Regions from separate parts of the Homo sapiens genome. Here all the other regions are linked to region 3. The links are contacts of gene promoters, found by promoter capture Hi-C in blood cells and fetal thymus (Javierre and others, 2016). All regions are on one chromosome and are shown on one strand. Each heading gives the region's core, a stretch centred on a gene start or on the middle of the fragment in contact. The rest is flanking DNA. Distances are from core to core; before and after follow the strand shown. Region 1 overlaps LAPTM4B (lysosomal protein transmembrane 4 beta). Region 2 overlaps LAPTM4B (lysosomal protein transmembrane 4 beta). Region 3 holds the start of ERICH5 (glutamate rich 5).

What was found. Contacts are between HindIII fragments. The CHiCAGO score rates a contact against its expected background, and 5 or more counts as called.
Region 1: a fragment that was not itself captured here is called in contact with the fragment with the promoter of ERICH5 in region 3 in 1 of 17 cell types (megakaryocytes); the score reaches 5.2 in megakaryocytes.
Region 2: a contact is called between a fragment that was not itself captured here and the fragment with the promoter of ERICH5 in region 3, in 2 of 17 cell types (M1 macrophages and endothelial precursors). The highest score is 5.2, in M1 macrophages.

The regions. Positions count from the first base shown.
Region 1 is chr8:97,838,502-97,842,903 of GRCh38, reverse strand. The region is part of intron 6 of LAPTM4B (lysosomal protein transmembrane 4 beta); the gene reads right to left. Among named protein-coding and RNA genes, the nearest start is that of MATN2, 28 kb to the left of the region's middle. The HindIII fragment of the contact is 4,326 bases long and covers 738-4,402 here.
Region 2 is chr8:97,813,142-97,817,960 of GRCh38, reverse strand. It overlaps LAPTM4B (lysosomal protein transmembrane 4 beta), which reads right to left. Exons shown (of 7, transcript NM_018407.6): 3 at 2,560-2,633; 4 at 1,781-1,903. Among named protein-coding and RNA genes, the nearest start is that of LAPTM4B, 40 kb to the right of the region's middle. The HindIII fragment of the contact is 1,222 bases long and covers 851-2,072 here.
Region 3 is chr8:98,061,698-98,066,166 of GRCh38, reverse strand. ERICH5 (glutamate rich 5) reads right to left here and starts at 1,599. Exons shown (of 3, transcript NM_173549.3): 1 at 1,440-1,599. The coding sequence starts at 1,497. RefSeq lists an enhancer at 1,159-1,218 and a silencer at 1,459-1,558. The HindIII fragment of the contact is 8,700 bases long and covers 1-4,469 here.

The DNA of each region.
Region 1 (4,402 bases), core at 1,651-4,150, 220 kb after region 3:
CTGTCTTTAAAAAAAAAAAGATATTATATAAGGGAGCACTAAAACTTCTGCAGGAAAAAGATATCCTTACAAAAACCCCAAAGATTAGGCCAGGCGCGGTGGCTCACGCCTGTAGTCCCAGCACTTTGGGAGGCTGAGGCGGGCAGATCACAAGGTCAGGAGTTAGAAACCAGCCTGGCCAATATGGTGAAACTCCGTCTCTACTAAAAATACAAAAATTAGCTAGGCGTGGTGGCGGGCGCCTGTAGTCCCAACTACTCTGGAGGCTGAGGCAGGAGAAATGCTTGAACCCAAGAGGCGGAGCTTGTAGTGAGCTGAGATCGCGCCAGTGCACTCCAGCCTGGGCAACAGAGCAAGACTCTGTCTCAAAAACAAAAACAAAAACAACAACAAAAAAACAAAGATTAGGTACTCCTGTTTGCCGGCCCTCCTGCAGGAGGGAATAGTTCAATTCAGATCTATCCAAGCCAAAAGCAGGGGCTACTGAACAATCTGGAATGTTTCAGATAGCTGTCCTACAGTTGCCTAGAAAACTCAGCCTAAATTTCTAGTAAGGCTGGGGTTGGTAAACTATGTGGGCCAAATAGGGCCTGTCACCATTTTATTGTATGGCCTGGGAGCTAAGAAGTTTTTAAATGTCATTTCATGGTTGAAGGAAAAAAAAATTCAAAAGAAAAATGTTTTGCGACATGTGAAAATCATATGAAATTCAAAATTCAGTGTTTGTAAGTAAAGCTTTATCGGGACTTAGCCACATTCATTCACATATACTGTCTACAGCTGCTTTCCAGCTTCATCAGAAAGTCAAATACTTGCGATAGAGACTATATGGCCCCCAAAACCTGAAATATAAGTTTGCCTTTGCCTGCACTAAGGAAAAGCGCTGCCCTTAATTGTAACCTTGGAAGATGTGATGTCAGATGAGAAAGTACAGTCTCCAAGCAGTCTCATTATTTAAGGGCACTTAAGTCTTCCAAAGGTCCATTTCAATTAATCCCAAGTAGCCAAAATATGTTTTCTTTTCCACCATGTAAAACCCCCAATCACCTATAATGCATCTTGTTTAAAATGTGCAGTGTTTACATCAAATATTTATCTTAAATTGGTCACGCCACATTTGCCTGTTTTGATGTGAGATTCCTTTACTTAAGCCAAACAGGGAAGGGGAGATAAGTGAATTATGAACCTCTGTGAGTAACTGGAATAACTCACAGAGTTATTTGGGCATTTGGGATCGAATAATCAGAAATACAAAGTCTGGGCTTATCTTTAAGATATCTGGTCGCAGTGGCTCACGCCTGTAATCCCAGCACTTTGGGAGGCTGAGGCAGGTGGATCACCTGAGGTCAGAAGTTCAAGACCAGCCTAGCCAACATGGTGAAACCCCACCTCTACTAAAACTACAAAAATTAGCTGGGCGTGATGGCAGGCGCCTGTAATCCCAGCTACTCGGGAGGCTGAGGCAGGAGAATCACTTGAACCCAGGAGGTGGAGGTTGCAGTAAGCCAAGATCGTGCCATTGCACTCCAGCCCGGGTGACAAGAGTGAAACTCCATCTCAAAAAAAAGAGAAAGATATCTAGAATAATTTTTCCAAACTTTTTAAATGCCCCACCTATGATATATACTATAAGTAAACACAGACACACAACTCTGTACCTTTTATTCTAAAGTATACATTTTCGTACATCTTAACATCTCAGAATTTTGGCTGTGCCGCCCCGTCTGGGAAGTGAGGAGCGCCTCTGCCCAGCCACCCTGACTGGGAAGTGAGGAGCCCCTCTGCCCGGCTGCTGCCCCATCTGGGATGTGAGGAGCACCTCTACCCAGCTCCCCACTGTCTGGGAAGTGAGGAGTGCCTCTGCCCAGCCGCCGCCCCATCTGGGATGTAAGGAGCGCCTCTACCCAGCTCCCCACCGTCTGGGAAGTGAGGAGCACCTCTGCTTGGCCACCAACTGTCTAGAAGTGATGAGGGCCTCCGCCCGGCTGCCACCCCATCTGGGATGTGAGAAGCGCCTCTGCCCAGCTACCCACCGTCTGGGAAGTGAGGAGCGCCTCTGCCCGGCCGCCCCACCATCTGGGAAGTGAGGAGCGCCTCTGCCCGGCCGCCCCACCGTCTGGGAAGTGAGGAGCACCTCTGCCCGGCCGCTGTGCAACCTTCTAAGTGTGAAGTGACAGCCTTGTGTGTGATCTTTTCTGTCTTCCCCAAGTTTGCATTTTCAACATTAAAGTTTACCTTTTAATTTTAAAAAATAATAATAATTTTGGCTGTGCCTTGTAACAGTACCTCACAGTAAGAGGTACCTAAAATAATAGTGCTATTGACAAGTGATAACATCTTGTCTTCAGTGAACCTAAGACATCGGGAGATGAGAATATAAACACATTTTTGGGAGTTCTAATGAGAAACTCTCCTCTCACCTAGAGCAAGGAATTGTTTCCAAAGGCAAACAAGATAGAGGTAGATTTTTATCCTCAATTTACTGCAAAACTACTCTGTTTTCTTCACTTCATAATAGGAGGGAGCCATTATTATCCTTAATTCTCAGCAAAGGAGCTATCTGAATTATTTGATACAGATTGTACTCAAAATACAGAATTCACACCGCAAATATTTTCAGTTGGGTCCAAAAATTATAAAATACCAATACAGTGGCCCAAACTGAAAGTTAAAATGGTTCTACACACTGAAGTATAATAGTTAAGTAAATACTGGATATTTAAATATTGAGGAAATGAAATAAGCAGTGTGCTATCACCTCGGTAATCCTATCAAAGGCATCTCAGCAGCTGCCTCTGCATGTTCCTGAAGCCTGAATGTGCTACGCCACCTACTGTACACATCTCCTTCACGACAACAACCGTTCCAGGGGGATACAATCCCACCATGCCCAGCTGCTGCCACAGAACATGGGCTGAAAAAGGAGGGATGCAGGGACTGCTCATGACCTTGGATCTCAGACTCCCATTTCACCTGCCTCCCCTACTCCACATCCTTCCCTGCCACCTCCCTTGCAATAATGGAAAGGGAAATACATTCCCAGAAACCTTTCCTACAATGTAAAAATATAAAATTCCTTGCCTTATTTGTCCCTAGAGTAAAATCAATATGGACTCTGAGGCACGTTATTAAATAAGTTGTGTGTGTGTTTTATAGTAAAATGGTTCACAACGAAAACTAGGTTTGTTTGGAGCTTTAAGAACTTTAGGTTTCAAACATCCATGTGTTGATCTGACTGCTCTAGATGTCCTCTCAAACACACTCTGAGATCCCCCAGATGCAAAGCCTCCTAACGTTTACAAGTGCTCGTGTAGTCTTCTCGAATGTTGCTCTGGGATGAAACAACTGGAAAGTTATATGGCTCGGAGATAATTTCCAGCAGACCGGGACATTTAAAATTTTATTGTTGGTGGCCGGGCGCAGTGGTTCACGCCTGTAATCCCAGCACTTTGGGAGGCCGAGGCAGGCGGATCACCTGAGGTCAGGAGTTCGAGATCGGCCTGGGCAACATGGTGAAACCCCGTCTCTACTAAAAATACAAAATTAGCCAGGCATGGTAACACATGCCTGTAATCCCAGCTACTCGGGAGGCTGAGGCAGGAGAATCGCTTGAACTGGGAGGTGGAGGATGCAGTGAGCCGAGATCGCGCCATTGCACTCCAGCCTGGGCAACAAGAGTAAAACTCCATCTCACCAAAAACAAAACAAAACAAAAAAAATTGTTGGAAGAATATTATGCAGAAGGAAAGAAATAGGAGCCGAGTTAATGTCACATACTGTCAGCCTGAACCTCAGAATTACAGCCAAGGAAAAGGTTTTGGGAGAAAAATCTCAGGAGCATGTAGTCCAATCTCACCCATGATGCTTTGATATTGGAACCAACAGGTAAGTCTATCTGAAGCTGTATGCGCATATGACAACATCGGGAGAATGCAGGGACTGGGGTATGGGAAGCAGGACTGTGTAGCACAACTATATAGATAAGCAGCTGCCCTGGTATGCAAAATTTACTTTTACCCTTTCTTTTTCTTCCGCCCCTTTTCTGAGTTACCCACCCCTCCCTTCCACTGTGTGAAAAGGTAAAAACTAGCAAACGAACAACAAACCAGAAAATCCCACTGCTTTTAAAGTTTCTGACTGTACTCGAGAAGAACTGTCTGAATGAAAAAGTGTCCACATGTTTCACTCCTCATCCTGGGCAATACAGCCAGACACGGCGGTGAGAACACTTGGCCCCAGCTGCAGTCCCAACTGGACAACAGTTAGGAGGAGGTGAGTGGGTCAGAACAGCCTGCAGCCAGGCTGATCAGGTTGTAGTCCCCCTCCTGCCACTCGACTAGCAGGGTGACCTCGGGAAGTTACCCTCTTGGTGCCTCAGTTTCCTCTTTTGCAACACAGGAAT
Region 2 (4,819 bases), core at 212-2,711, 250 kb after region 3:
ATGTCTGTAGTCCAAACTACTTGGGAGGCTAAGGTGGAAGGATCACTTGAGCCCAGAAGATTGAGGTTGCAGGCTGGGCATGGTGGCTCACGCCTGTAATCTCAGCACTTTGGGAGGCCAAGGTGGGCGGATCACCTGAGGTCAGGAGTTCGAGACCAGCCTGGTCAACATGGCAAAACCCCACCTCTACTAAAAAAAAAATACAAAAATTAGCCAGGCATGGTAGTGGGCGCCTGTATTCCTAGCACTCTGGGAGGCCGATGAGGGTGGATCCTCTGAGGCTAAATGTTTGAGACCAGCCTGGAAAAGATGGTGAAACCCCATCTCTACTAAAAATACAAAAAATTAGCCAGGCTTGGTAGCGGGTGCCTGTAATCCCAGCTACTCAGGAGACTGAGGCAGGAGAATGGCTTGAACCCAGGGAGGCGGAGGTTGCAGTGAGCCGAGATCACAACACTGCACTCCAGCCTAGGTGATAGAGTGAGACTCTGTCTCAAAAAAAAAAAAAAAAAAAAGTAAAGTTGGCCTGGTACAGTGAGTCACATCTATAATGCCAGCACTTTGGGAGGCCAAGGCTGGAGGATCACTTGAGTCTAGGAGTTTGAGACAAGCCTGGGCAACATGGTGAAACCCCATCTCTACATAAGATACAAAAAGAAAAATTAGGTGGGCATGGTGGTGCATGCCTATAGTGCCAGCTACTCAAGAGGTTGAGATGGGAGGATCACGGGAGCCTGGGAGGTCAACGCTGCAGCAAGCCATAATCACACCACTGCACTCCAGCCTGGGTGACAGAGACCCTGTCCCAAAAATAAATAAAGTTATTCCAACCTCATAGCCATTATAAGCTTCTTAATACCCTGCCACCAATATTCACTCATATGGTCACAAAGGACATTTAACCGTAAACTAGTCCCAAAATGATGCTTGAGAAAGGGATTCTATGGTCAAACAAATTTGGGAGCTAGTATACAGCAGTGTTCCACTTTCTTTCCACTTTCTTTTGATTTTTCTTTTTTTTTAGATGAGATCTCACTCTATTGCCCAGGCTGGAGTGCAGTGGCGTGATCTTGGCTCACTGCAGCCTCCACCTCCCAGGTTCAAGCAATTCTCCTGCCTCAGCCTCCCGAGTGGCTAGGGTCACAGGCGTGTGCCACCTCTCCCAGCTAATTATTTTGTTTGTTTTTGAGCAGAGTCCCACTTTCAACACACTAGCAAAGGCAAAAAGCTATCCTTTGTTGATAACTGAGAAAACTACATTTTACCAAATACGACTATTAGTAACTGGACTATAATTTAGGTAGGCACATCAACCACCACCATCACTGCCACCAATCATAACCCCGGCCCTCAAAACTTTATCAGGCCAGGCACAGTGGCTCACACCCATAATCCCAGCACTTTGGGAGGCCAAGATGGGTGGATCACCTGAGGTCAGGAGTTCAAGACCAGCCTGACCAACACAGTGAAACCCCATCTCTACTAAAAATACAAAATTAGCCAGGTATGTTGGTACATGCCTATAATCCCAGCTAGCTGGGAGGCTGAGACCCTGGAGGCAGAGGTTGCAGTGAGCCGAGATCGCATCACTGCACTCCAGCCTGGGTGACGAGAGCAAGACTCCACCTCAAAAAAAAGAAAAAAGAAATTTCCTATGAGTAACTCAGCTGCAAGCTAAAAATCCTGAAATTAATGTCTGTGTATCTCTACACATCCCTTACTTAACCAGCTTCCCTAATGAAAAGAATTAATGAAAAGGAGCAGTAAGAGGTCCACGTACCAGTTGCCGTATGTATTCCTGAATGGAGTTTGGATAAATAAGCACAGTGATTGCAACCAACATGTTCAGGGCAAAGTCAAAGATCTGGTAACAGAAGAATGGGATGATCCAGGCTGCGCGTTGCTAAACAGAACAGAAAATAGAAAGTTAATGTGTTCAATATTATAAAACAATATTTTTCTTAAATTCAAAGTATTTTATTAATCTGAAAGGAAATGGAAAAATTGGAATTCATTAACCCAGGTCATGGTGGAAACCAGTATGCCAAATATAAGCAGTCAACAAATAAGCTTCAGTGAACATTTCCAGGACTGGCTGTGTGTGGTGTCTCACACCTGTAATCCCAGCATTTTGGGAGGCTGAGGTGGGTGGATCACTTAAGGTCAGGAGTTCGAGACTAGCCTGCCCAACATGGTGAAATCACGTCTCTACTAAAAAATACAAAAATCAGCAAGGTGTGGTGGCACACACCTGTAGTCCCAGCTACTCTGGAGGCTGAGGTGGGAGAATCACTTGAACTTGGGAGGCGGAGATTGCAGTGAGCTAAGATCACACCACTCTACTCCAGCCTGTGTGACAGAGTGAGACCCCGTCTTCCCAAAAAAAAAAAAATTTCCAGTATAATATTGGTTTTCCTAGTACCACATAATACAAACGAGAGATTTAAACAGAGATTCTTAACAGAAAACTGGAAAGTCACTTCTCACTATAGACAGCAGCACAGATTACACATGTAAGAGACCAAGGAAAAGGCCAGCATCTTACTGCAAGCGGCTTACCTTGTACGCTCCGTAAGTAGCCATAGCACATATCAGGATCATGAGAAGAGAAATCGCAATGGCAATGCACATGTCTGCCGAAAGATTAAAAAGAATTTCTTTAAAAAAGACAATCAGTAGTGGATCCACTGAATACTTTCAGTCTCTTCTCAAAGGCATTTTGTAAATAAACTAGCATAAAGTTAGTAAATACTTTATACTAAGAGATTATTTCAAAATAGAAAAAGGGATATTGGTTTACAGATTTTTTTAATGTTTGTTCTTCTGGTCCACTGGATTATATAAATAATGAATTAGGTATTACTTTATAGATATATAGGTGTCTAACTTCTATTTTGTAAACTCATGTGTGCCTCAAAGCTCTAATGAAAGCCTTCATAGCTTCCGATCTTATTTAAAATAAAAACTCCGGCCAGGTGCGGTGGCTCACACCTATAATCCCAACACTTTGGGAGGCCGAGGAGGGCGATCACGAGGTCAGGAGATTGAGACCATCCTGGTTAACACAGTGAAACCCCATGTGTACTAAAAATACAAAAAATTAGCCGGGCGTGGTGGTGGGCACCTGCTGACCCAGCTACTTGGGAGGCTGAGGCAGAAGAATGGCATGAACCTGGGAGACAGAGCTTGCAGTGAGCCGAGATCGCGCCACTGCACTCCGGTCTGGGCGATAGAGCGAGACTCCATCTCAAAAAAATAAATAAATAAAAATAAAACCTTCATTTCTTATCAAGGCCTTGATGTTCCTCTTTATTCCAGAGCAGTCTACCTCTCTAATCTCGCCTCACCTTGTCCCACTCTCTTGCTTGCTCTAAGACAGCCATATCATCTGGTTCATTCTATTTTATTTATTTTTTCTTTTTTCTTTTTATTTTTTTGAGACAGAGTCTCACTCTGTCGCCCAGGCTGGAATGCAGTGGGACAACATTGGCTCAATGCAAATTCCGCATCCCAGGCTCAAGCAAGTCTCCCAGGCTCAAGCAAGTCTCCCACCTCACCCCCTAGGTACCTGAGACTACAGGTGTGCTCCACCATGCCAATTTTTATATTTTTAGTAGAGACGGGGGTTTCACCATGTTGGCCAGGCTGGTCTCGAACTCCTGACTTCAAATGATCTGCCAGCCTCGGCCTCCCAAAGTTCTGGGATTACAGGCGTGAGCCACCATGCCTGGCCTTCAACTTCTTTTTTCCTTTAGTCAATCTCTGGTAAATAAGGAGTCTTGTTTGGTCTCCCAATCTGGAGTTGCAGTGGTGTGATCATGGCTCATTGCAGCTTCAATTGCCTGGGCATTGTCACTATGGGATTATAGGCATAAGTCACCGCACCCGGACAAAAATATCTTAAACCAACTTGGCAGGTACACAACTGCTTGTAGCACCATTATTTGCTACGGGTAATAAATATTTTATAAATATTCTTTTATACCTACTCAATATTTAATAAGAAATAATTTTATAAAAATGAACCCCAAACTATTGGTTTTTTTAAACTGCTTTTCCTAGATCTGGCAGAACAAATTATTGTCAATGAGAAAAATAATATTGGTTTTCATTGTACATGCAACTTCTCTAAAAGCTTTGCATTTTTTCGACAGAGATCTAGAGGGGAAAACATAATCTGCATACTAAATCTCTACTAAATTGCAAATCACATCCTGATTTCAAAAACATTAAAATGTAAACAACAACAATAAAATGCATTGGAGAAGCAGCCGGTGAGCACGTTAAGAGCATGAAAGGAGGAATACTGGACACCAGAGCTGATCTAACTCCTTCTTAGCCAGTGGCAAACAGGACCTCAACAGATCCAGGGGATTCTGTAGGCTTAATGCATCTGGAGTGTCAACTTGACTGGACTGAAGGATGCAAAGTATTGTTCCTGGGTGTGCCTGTGAGGGCGTTGCCAAAGGAGATTAACATTTCAGTCAGTGGACTGGGAGACGAAGACCCACCCTCAATCTGTATGGGTACCATCTAACCAGCTGCCAGCCTGGCTAGAATAAAGCAGGTAGGAGAAGATGAAGAGCAGACTTGCTGAGTCTTCCGGCTTCCATCTTTCTCCCGTGCTGGATGCTTCTTGCCCTCGAACATCAGACACCAGATTCTTCCGCTTTTGGACTCCTGGACTTACACCAGTGGTTTTCCAGGGGCTCTCCGGCCTTTGGCCACAAACTGAAGGCTGCACTGTCAGCTTCCCTACTTTTGAGGTTTTGGGACTTGGACTGATCCATCACTGGCTTCCTTGCTCCTCAACTTGCAG
Region 3 (4,469 bases), core at 350-2,849:
CTCTGTCCTCTTGTTGCAGGTATGGAAGCTCTGGGTTCTTTAGGAGAAAAGTTAGTGAGCACTGTGCATTAGAAATGAATTTTTCCATCTTTTCACATTGTTGTCAGTGAGAAGGGGTTTACTTTTATAATGCTTTTAATTTTTTGTTTACTTCCTGACTTGTCATTGCTTTCCGTTATCTATGGAAACTAGAAATAAATTCTCATACACCACAAAAATAACAGCAACACAACATATTTCTGACTAGGACACAGCGGCTGAGCTTTGAAAAGCATTCCTCACCGTCTGGTGCGCTCTACCAACAACATCAGAGGAAGACATTTCTGTTACTGCAATAACACAAGGTGCTAAGAGAAAATCTGTGAAAAGGAATTCACTCCAGTACAAAATCCCCGCTAAAGTTCGCCTTGCAGAAGACTGTAAACTAGCTTGACGGAGTTTGCTTAACCTCCATAGCATTGTCCAAAATTTTAGCCATTCAAAATCTAAGAAAAGTGAGTCGGCTGTAAAACCCTGTCATTCTCTAATTCATGTAACTGCGTTTATACTTTTCACAGTACTTATCACTGTCAGAAACGATCTTAGCCAATTGTTTCACGTGTTTCTTTTCTGTCTCTTCTATCTTCAATCTCTACAAACAGGGTCACTTGTATCTCCAGCATCTAGCCAAGCACTGGGGTATTATATAGCAGATGCTCAAAATGTCCTTGTTGAGTTTCTTCAGCAAGAGTCAGTGATGACCACTTTTGATCACACATACTTCTCAACTGATACTTAAGCCGAAGATAGGGGAAAGTGTGTCTGACCTATTCAGAGTGCAGGGACCCATTTGATGGAGTGAATGCTCCTCTGGATTCTCCGCATCTTTTGCCATCTTTGATGCTGAAACGCTAATGGGAGGGTAAATGGGGAAAAGTCTTTTTTGTTGGTGTTTTAGTAGAGACGGGGGAGCGGAAGATCTCGCTTTGTTACCCAGGTTTTTCTCGAACTTCTGGTCTCAAGAGATCGTCCCGCCTCAGCCTCCCAAAGTGCTGAGATTGCAGTCGTCAGCCACCGCCCCCAGCCTTGGTAGAAGGCCTTGATAGGACATTTCTCCTGTGTTTAAGGCAATGCCGAGGCTAACCGCCTTAGGGCCTCAACACCAACTCCCCGAGATCCCATCAGCGGACAGGGTGAATCCAGCGCCCGGCCTCGGGCCCCGCGCGTCTCGCAGCGAGCGCCGCGGAGCGCACCAGGGCCGCCGCACCCGCGGTCACAGCAGCGCCGCTCCAGATTTGGAAGGAAATCGCGCTTTGTCCCGGGTTCTGCTCGCATCCTCCGGGACAAGGCCCGGCTCCTGCCAGGCGGGGTGGCCACGGGACACACCCTTTGGACCTCCTGGGGAGTTAGCCCACCCGAGTCCCCAGCCCGGGCGCGGGCGGCGCCGGTACCCTGCTCACCGCTGGGGAACCTGCTGCTGTCGCCGGCCTTGTTGAGGGCGCTGCTGGAGCAGCCCATTGCGGGGAGCGCAGACACCTGTCTCAGCCCTGCGCGGGTGTCGGCCCGGAACCGGGAACCGAAGGCAACTGCACCCGTAGCCGCGGAAGTTTCTCCAGCTCTGCAGCCCGGCTCCCTTGGGCGTAGAGCGCAAGCGCGCAGCGGGGCTAATGGTAGGGGGTGCGCACCTGGAGGAGGAAGGGAGCTGGCAGGAGGTGGAAGGAGCCTGGGAGCGCAAAGCGGAAGAGAGCGGGAGGGCCAGGACGCAGAGGAGGGCAGGGAGGAGTAGAGCCCAGGAGACAGGAGGGGAGACGGTGGAGGGTATGGCACAGTAAGAGAGGAAAAGCCCCTAAAGCAGGGATAGGGAGGATGTCAGGGGGCGAGGGCGAAGCGCTGGGAGGTATCATCTGACTCATCACTAAATAGCCAGGGAGGCGAGGCGGCCTTGGGACTAGGGGCTATTGATTGGTAGACTAGATGTGCGATGACAGTCTTATTTTCTTACATAACTACAATTACCACAAGGAAGTTTAACTTTGATACAGTACGATTTAATCCACCCTCCATGTTCCCTTTTTGCCAATTGTCCAATCCAGGACTGCACGTTGCATTTAGTTGTGTCTCTCTTTAGTTTGCTTTAATCTGAAGTAGTTCCTCCAGTCTTGCTTTGTCGTTATGACTTTGACATTTATTAAGAGAATAGATTTTTTTTTTTTTTTGAAACCGAGTCTCTCTCTGTTGCCCAGGCTGGAGTGTAGTGGCGCAATCTCGGCTCACTGCAACCTCTGCCTCCCGGGTTCAAGCGATTCTCCAGCCTCAGCCTCCAGAGCAGCTGGGATTACAGGCGCCTGCCACCGTGCCCAGCTAATTTTTGTAATTTTAGTAGAGACGGGGTTTCACCATATTGGTCAGGCTGGTTTCGAACTCCTGACCTCAGGTGATCCACCCGCTTCGGCCTCTCAAAGTGCTGGGATTACAGGCATGAGCCACTGCGCTCGGCCTTTTTTTTTTTTTTTTTTTTTCCGGAGATGGAGTCTCACTGTGTCACCAAGACTGGAGTGTAGTGGCGAGATCTCAGCTCACTGCAACCTCCACCTCCCTGGTTCAAGAAACTCTCCCTGCTTCAGCCTCCTGAGTAGCTGGAATTACAGGCATGCGCCACCACGTCTGGCTATTTTTTGTATTTTTTAGTAGAGACGGCGTTTCACCATGTTGGCCAGGCTGGTCTTGAACTCCTGATCGCAGGTGATCCGCCCGCGTGGGACTCCCAAAGTGCTGGGATTACACATGTCAGCCACCGCACCCGGTGAGAACAGGCTTTTTTTTTTTTTAATTTGAGACACGGTTTCATTCTTGTTGCCCAGGCTGGAGTGCAATGGCACAATCTCAGCTCACCACAACTTTCGCCTCCTGGGTTCAAGCAATTCTCCTGCCTAAGCCTCCTGAGTAGCTGGGATTACATGCATGCGCCACCACACCCTGCTAATCTTGTATTTTTAGTAGAGATGGGGTTTCTTCATGTTGGTAAGGCTGGTCTCGAACTCCCGACCTCAGGTGATCCGCCTGCGTCAGCCTCCCAAAGTGCTGGGATTACAGGCATGAGCCATCGCGCCTGGCCAGGCCTTTTTTTAGAGAGAAAGAGGCTGGGCGCGGTGGCTCATGCCTGTAATTCCAGCACTTTGAGAGGCTGAGGCAGGAGAATCTCTTGAACCCGGGAGGTGCAGTTTTCAGTGAGCCAAGCCTGCCCTCCAGCCTGGGTGACAGAGCAAGATTCCATCCAAAAAAAATTTTTTTATAGAGACAGGAGTCTTGCCATGTTGCCCAGGCTGGTCTTGAACTCCTTACCTCAGGGGATCCTCTTCCCTTTGCCTCCCCAAAGTGCTGGGATTACAGGCATGAGACAGTGTGCCTGTGATTTTCTAATTACATTATTCCTTCTATATTGATTAGCTGCCATTCTACTACAAAGTAAGGAAGTGCTTTTCCTTCCCCCCATTTATTCACTTACATCAGTGAGCACTCATGAAGTCTCACACTATCCAATGTAGTATGTTACCATCTGTGAGAGTTTGCTAGGGGTGCTATAATAAAGTACCACAGACTGGATGGCTTGAAGTACAGACATGTATTTCCTCATAGTTCTTGAGATTAGAAGTCAAAGATCAAGATGTCAGCAGAACTGGTTTCTTCTGAGGGCTTGTCTTCTTGGCTGGTAGATGGCCATCTTCTCCATGTCTTCACTTGATCTCCCCCTTGTGCTTGTCTGTGTCCTAATCTCCCCCTCTTATAAGAACACCAGTCATATTGGATTAGGGCCCATATAACCTCATTTTACCTTAATTACCCATTTAAAGGCTATATTTCCAAATACTGTACAGTCACATTCGTAGGTTCTGGGGGTTAGGATTTCAGCATATAAGTGTCCAAGAAGACAATTCAGCCCATAATAACATCATTTTAAAATATTTGAGACAGAGTCTCACTCTGTCACCCAGGCTGGGGTGCAGTGGTGCAATCATAGCTCACAGCAGCCGTAAGCTCCTGAGCTCAAGCAATCCTCCAGCCTCAGCCTCCTGAGTAGCTAGGATTGTAGGCATGTGCCACCATGCCTGGATAATTAAAAAAAATTTTTTTTTAATAAAGATGGGGTCTTGCTATGTTGCCCAGGCTGGTCTCAAGTTCTTGGACTCAAGTGATTCTCCTGCCTTGACCTCTAAAAGCTGGGATTACAACACCATAATTATTTACTTTGATGCTCAAATTGCCTAAAATTTGCCATATTTGTCTATACGGCTCATTGGATACACAGCCCTGGGCTTTACTATATGTTTAGAGGTCCCTCCCTTCCTTCTTTTTTTTCTTCTCTTCCTCCCTCTCTCCTTCTTTCTCCTCCTCCTGTTCCTCTCCTTTTTTTACTTTCTCTGTCTTCCTCTCCTTCTCTCCCCTGTAATTCAGGCCTGAAAAATCTTGGCCACCCAGCAATTGAATCACTA